Regions from separate parts of the Homo sapiens genome. Here region 1 is linked to region 2. The links are contacts of gene promoters, found by promoter capture Hi-C in human tissues and cell types (Jung and others, 2019). All regions are on one chromosome and are shown on one strand. Each heading gives the region's core, a stretch centred on a gene start or on the middle of the fragment in contact. The rest is flanking DNA. Distances are from core to core; before and after follow the strand shown. Region 1 overlaps LOC107987105 (a long non-coding RNA gene). Region 2 holds the start of OR13C5 (olfactory receptor family 13 subfamily C member 5).

The links. Contacts are between HindIII fragments. The study calls those that stand out against the background at their distance.
Region 1: a contact is called between a fragment that was not itself captured here and the fragment with the promoter of OR13C5 in region 2, in 2 of the 25 tissues and cell types used here (H1 embryonic stem cells and thymus).

What each region holds. Positions count from the first base shown.
Region 1 is chr9:104,639,955-104,642,654 of GRCh38, reverse strand. The region is part of intron 2 of LOC107987105 (a long non-coding RNA gene); the gene reads left to right. Among named protein-coding and RNA genes, the nearest start is that of OR13C9, 23 kb to the right of the region's middle. The HindIII fragment of the contact is 5,330 bases long and covers 1-2,700 here.
Region 2 is chr9:104,598,063-104,600,762 of GRCh38, reverse strand. OR13C5 (olfactory receptor family 13 subfamily C member 5) reads left to right here and starts at 1,350. Exons shown (of 1, transcript NM_001004482.1): 1 at 1,350-2,306. The coding sequence starts at 1,350. The coding sequence ends at 2,306. All of the region lies in intron 3 of LOC107987105 (a long non-coding RNA gene), which reads left to right. The HindIII fragment of the contact is 7,392 bases long and covers 1-2,700 here.

The sequences.
Region 1 (2,700 bases), core at 185-2,684, 42 kb before region 2:
GTAGTACAATGCCTTCAGCTTTGTTATTTTTGCTTAGGATTGCCTTGGCTATTCAGGCTCTTTTTTGGTTCCATATGAACTTTAAAGTAGTTTTTTTTTTTTTTCAGTTCTGTGAAGAATCTCAATGGTAGTTTAACAGGAATAGCATTGAATCTATAAATTACTTTGGGCAATATGGCCATTTTATGATATTGATTCTTCCTATTCATGAACATGGAGTGTTTTCCCATTTGTTTGTGTCTTCTCTGATTTCTTTGAGCAGTGTTTTGTAATTCTTCTTATAGAGATCTTTAACCTTCCTGGTTAGATGTATTCTTAGGTATTTTATTCTTTTTTTGGCATTTGTGAATGGGAATGAGTCCTGATTTGGCTTTGGCTTGACTGGAATTGGTGTGTACGAATGTTAGTGATATTTACACATTGATTTTGTATCTTGAGACTTTGCTGAAGTTGTTTATCAGCTTAAGAATGTTTTGGGTTGAGACTATGGGGTTTTCTAGATATAGAATCATGTTGTCTGCAAACAGGGATAGTTTTGTGTCTGGAATTGGTTCCTTCTGGTGGGTTCTTGGTCTCACTGACTTCAAGAATAAAGCTGCAGACCCTCGTGGTGAGTGTTACAGTTTTTAAAGATGGTGTGTCCGGAGTTTGTTCCTTCTGATGTTCAGATATGTCTGGAGTTTTTTCCTTCTGGACCCTCGTGGTGAGGGTTACAGTTCTTAAAGATGGTGTGTCCGGAGTTTGTTCCTTCTGATGTTCAGATGTGTCTGGAGTTTCTTCCTTCTGGTGGGTTTGTGGTCTTGCTGACTTCAGGAGTGAAGCCACAGACCTTCACAGTGAGAGTTACAGCTCATAAAAGGTAGTGTGAACCCAAAGAGTGAGCAGCAGCAAGATTTATTGTGAAGAGCGAAAGAACAAAGCTTCCACAGAGCGGAAGGGAGCCCCAGCGGGTTGCCGCTGCTGGCTGGGGTAGCCAGCTTTTATTCCCTTATTTGGCCCCACCCACATCCTGCCGATTGGTCCATTTTACAGAGCGCTGATTGGTCCATTTTACAGAGTGCTGATTGGTCCTTTTCTAGAATGCTAATTGGTGCATTTACAAACCTTTAGCTAGACACCGAGTGCTGACTGGTGGGTTTTTACAGAGTGCTGATTGGTGCGTTTACAAACCTTTAGCTAGACACAAAAGTTCTCAAAGTCCCCACCCGACCCAGAAGCCCAGCTGGCTTCACCTCTCAGTTTGACTTCCTCTTTTCCTATTTGGATACCCTTTATTTATTTCTCTTGCTTGATTGCCCTGGCCGGCCAGGACTTCCAGTACTATGTTGAATAGGAGTGGTGAGGGAGGGCATGCTTGTATTGTGCTGGTTTTCAAGGGGAATGCTTCCAGCTTTTGCTCATTCAGTATAATGTTGGCCGTGGGTTTGTCATAGACAGCTCTTATTATTTTGAGGTGTGTTCCTTCAATACCTAGTTTATTGAGAGTTTTTAATGTGAAGGGGTGTCAAATTCATTTATGTGATGAATCACATTTATTTATTTGCATGTGTCAAACCAACCTTGCATCCTAGGGATAAAGCCTAGTTGATTGTGGTGGATAAGCTTTTTGATGTGCTGCTGGATTTGGTATGCAAGTATTTTGTTGAGGATGTGTACATTGATGTTCATCAAGGGTATTGACCCGAAGTTTTCTTTTTTTGTTGTGTCTCTGCCAGGTTTTGCTATCAGGATGATGCTGGCCTCTTAGAATGAGTTATGGAGGTGTCCATCCTCCTCAATTTTTTGGAATAGTTTCAGCAGGAATGGTACCAGCTATTCTTTGTACATCTTGTAGAATTCAGCTCTAAGTCTGTTTGGTCCTGGGCTTTTTTTATGTTGGTAGACTATTTCTGACTCAATTTCAGAGCTTATTATTGGTCTGTTCAGGGATTCAATTTCTTCCTGGTTCAGTCTTCAGAGGGTGTATGTGTCTAGGAATGTATCCATTTCTTCTAGATTTTCTAGTTTGTGTGCAGAAAGTGTTCATAATATTCTCTAATGGTTGTTTGTATTTCTGTGGGGCCAGTGTATACTACAGTTTCTTATCCATTAATTTATCAATGAACACGTAGGTTGAGTCCGTATCTTGGCTATTGCGATTGGTACTGCAATAAACGTGGGAGTGCAGATTTTTTTTCAGTATGTTGATTTCCTTTATTTTGGATATATACCTGATATATATCCAGGTATGGAATTGCTGAATCATATAGAAGCTCCATTTTTATTTGTTTGAGGAGCCTTCATACTGTTTTCCATAATGGCTGTACTACTTTACATTCTCACAAACAGTATACAAGAGATCCTCTTTCTCTGCAGCCTTGTCAGCATGTATTGTTTTTGTCTTTTGATGACAGCCATTTTAACTGGAATAATTTTTTATCGTGTCTTTAATTTGCATTCCCGTGATGATTAGTGAGGTTGAGCATTTTTTCATATACCTGATGGCCATGTGTATATCTTTTGAAAAATGCCTATTCAGATAAAATGAGTTGACTGTAAATGTGTGATTTATGGGTTCTCTGTTCTGTTCCATTGGTCTTCATGTCTGTTTTTATGCCAGTACCATGCTGTTTTGGTTACTATAACTTTGTAATATAATTTGAAATCAGGTAGAGTGATGCCTATGGCTTTGTTCTTTTGCTCAGGGTTGCTTTGATCATT
Region 2 (2,700 bases), core at 101-2,600:
GAGTTGAATAAAGGAAAAAAAAAGTCAAAGAGGCATCATAATGAAAATGAGAAATTTTCATGTAAGGGAGGACACAAGAATTATAATGATCAAATGCAACTCTGTGACAAAACATTTGTTATAGAAATGAGTACTTTTCTAGCAAAATATGAAGCATCAAAATCAACTGCTATCAAATTACCATATTGAAATCCCCTTACTGACCAATCACATTTTTATCTGATATTTCTTTTGAAATATTAATACTGTTAGTGAGATTGCAAGATATTCTAGCCCATGAGCCAAATTCTCTTTGCAAATTCTCTTTAAGCATTAAGTTATTAAGTACTGAGTATTAAGTTTTGAGTATTAAGAGCTCGAATTCTGAAGCCATACTGCTTGGGTTTAAGTCCTTGCTCTTTCATTTATCTGTCTTTATGAAATTGACCTTAAGCAAATTACTTAACTTTTCTGTGCCTTATTTTCCCCTCTACACAATAGGCTTGGTGATACTAAGAGTAACAGTATTACCTCATAGGCTTGCTTTTCAGACTCCATTATGTAATGCACAGAGAAAACAAATAATAGAGGGTTGGCGCAGAGTAAGAAATATAGCAATTGTTTTGCCTTTGATTTTGTCTGTGCATCCAACAAATGTTTTTGAACATTTACCTCGGTGTCTGTTCTATTCTAGCTACAGGGGCTGTGGAAATAAGCAAGAATAAGTACCTGCCCTTATGAAGTTTACATTCTACTGGGAAAGACAGACAATATACGTAACATAGTATAATTTCAAGGAGTGACAAGAGCATTGATCTATTGTGTGGTGATTTATAGCCAATAAAATAGTTTAGTGTTCAGTTTTACATAATACAATGCTCATTTCTATTATAACCTTCAGTTTACTATGTGATGACAAATATGACAAAAAGTTCAGACTTCAACAGGAATATTTCGGTTTGAATCTTAGCTCTGCTATATAGTATGTACCTTTGGTCAAGTTTACTTAACATATCCGCTTTGATTTATTCATCTGTAAAATATGGATACTAATACCCCTTTCCTAGAACTGTGATGATATTAAATGAATTAAGTGGCTGTAGCATGAAACATGTTACTTTTATCTTTCCTTCCTTCTCTCCATTCATTCATTCATTCATTCATTCCCTTCCCTCTCTCCATTCATAATTCCCTCTTTTCTGTAGACTTTTCTTTATGCTCTCTCTTCTTTCTTTGGTCTTTTCCCATTTTATTTTTCTTTTTCCTTGGGAATTATGGCACATATTCATTGACACATGCTTGAAAGTAATCAGAGTAAGATAAATATTTGTCTTAACATGCTCTGTCTTACAAGCTAAAGAGGGAGTAAAATGGAATGGGAAAACCACACCATTCTGGTGGAATTTTTTCTGAAGGGACTTTCTGGTCACCCAAGACTTGAGTTACTCTTTTTTGTGCTCATCTTCATAATGTATGTGGTCATCCTTCTGGGGAATGGTACTCTCATTTTAATCAGCATCTTGGACCCTCACCTTCACACCCCTATGTACTTCTTTCTGGGGAACCTCTCCTTCTTGGACATCTGCTACACCACCACCTCTATTCCCTCCACGCTAGTGAGCTTCCTTTCAGAAAGAAAGACCATTTCCCTTTCTGGCTGTGCAGTGCAGATGTTCCTCAGCTTGGCCATGGGGACAACAGAGTGTGTGCTTCTGGGCGTGATGGCCTTTGACCGCTATGTGGCTATCTGCAACCCTCTGAGATATCCCATCATCATGAGTAAGGATGCCTATGTACCCATGGCAGCTGGGTCCTGGATCATAGGAGCTGTCAATTCTGCAGTACAAACAGTGTTTGTGGTACAATTGCCTTTCTGCAGGAATAACATCATCAATCATTTCACCTGTGAAATTCTAGCTGTCATGAAACTGGCCTGTGCTGACATCTCAGGCAATGAGTTCATCCTGCTTGTGACCACAACATTGTTCCTATTGACACCTTTGTTATTAATTATTGTCTCTTACACGTTAATCATTTTGAGCATCTTCAAAATTAGCTCTTCGGAGGGGAGAAGCAAACCTTCCTCTACCTGCTCAGCTCGTCTGACTGTGGTGATAACATTCTGTGGGACCATCTTCCTCATGTACATGAAGCCCAAGTCTCAAGAGACACTTAATTCAGATGACTTGGATGCCACTGACAAACTTATATTCATATTCTACAGGGTGATGACTCCCATGATGAATCCTTTAATCTACAGTCTTAGAAACAAGGATGTGAAGGAGGCAGTAAAACACCTACTGAGAAGAAAAAATTTTAACAAGTAAATGAGAAAGGTGAGAGTAATTTTATAATCACAATATGGAAATCAATTAGAGAAACCAAGGTTAAACAGATAGGTTCTCGTTGCTGTTTCACATTCATCTCTCGAAGTTCTAAAGCTCCAAAATACACTTCTCTGATTGCGATACATAATGAAAAGAAGTAAATAAATAAATTTCAGTGTTTGGAAATAAGTTTCTATTCTGTTCCATTGGTTGATATGTCTATTTTTATCTGAGTACCATGCTCTTTTGATTACAATAACTTTATAACATATTTTAAAACTGCAGCATATGGTGCTCTCAGCTTTGTTTTTGCTTCAGATTGCTTTGCCCAGGCAGGGTCTTTTCTAGTTCCATGTAAATTTTAGGATTGTTGTTTCAATTTTTATGAAAAATG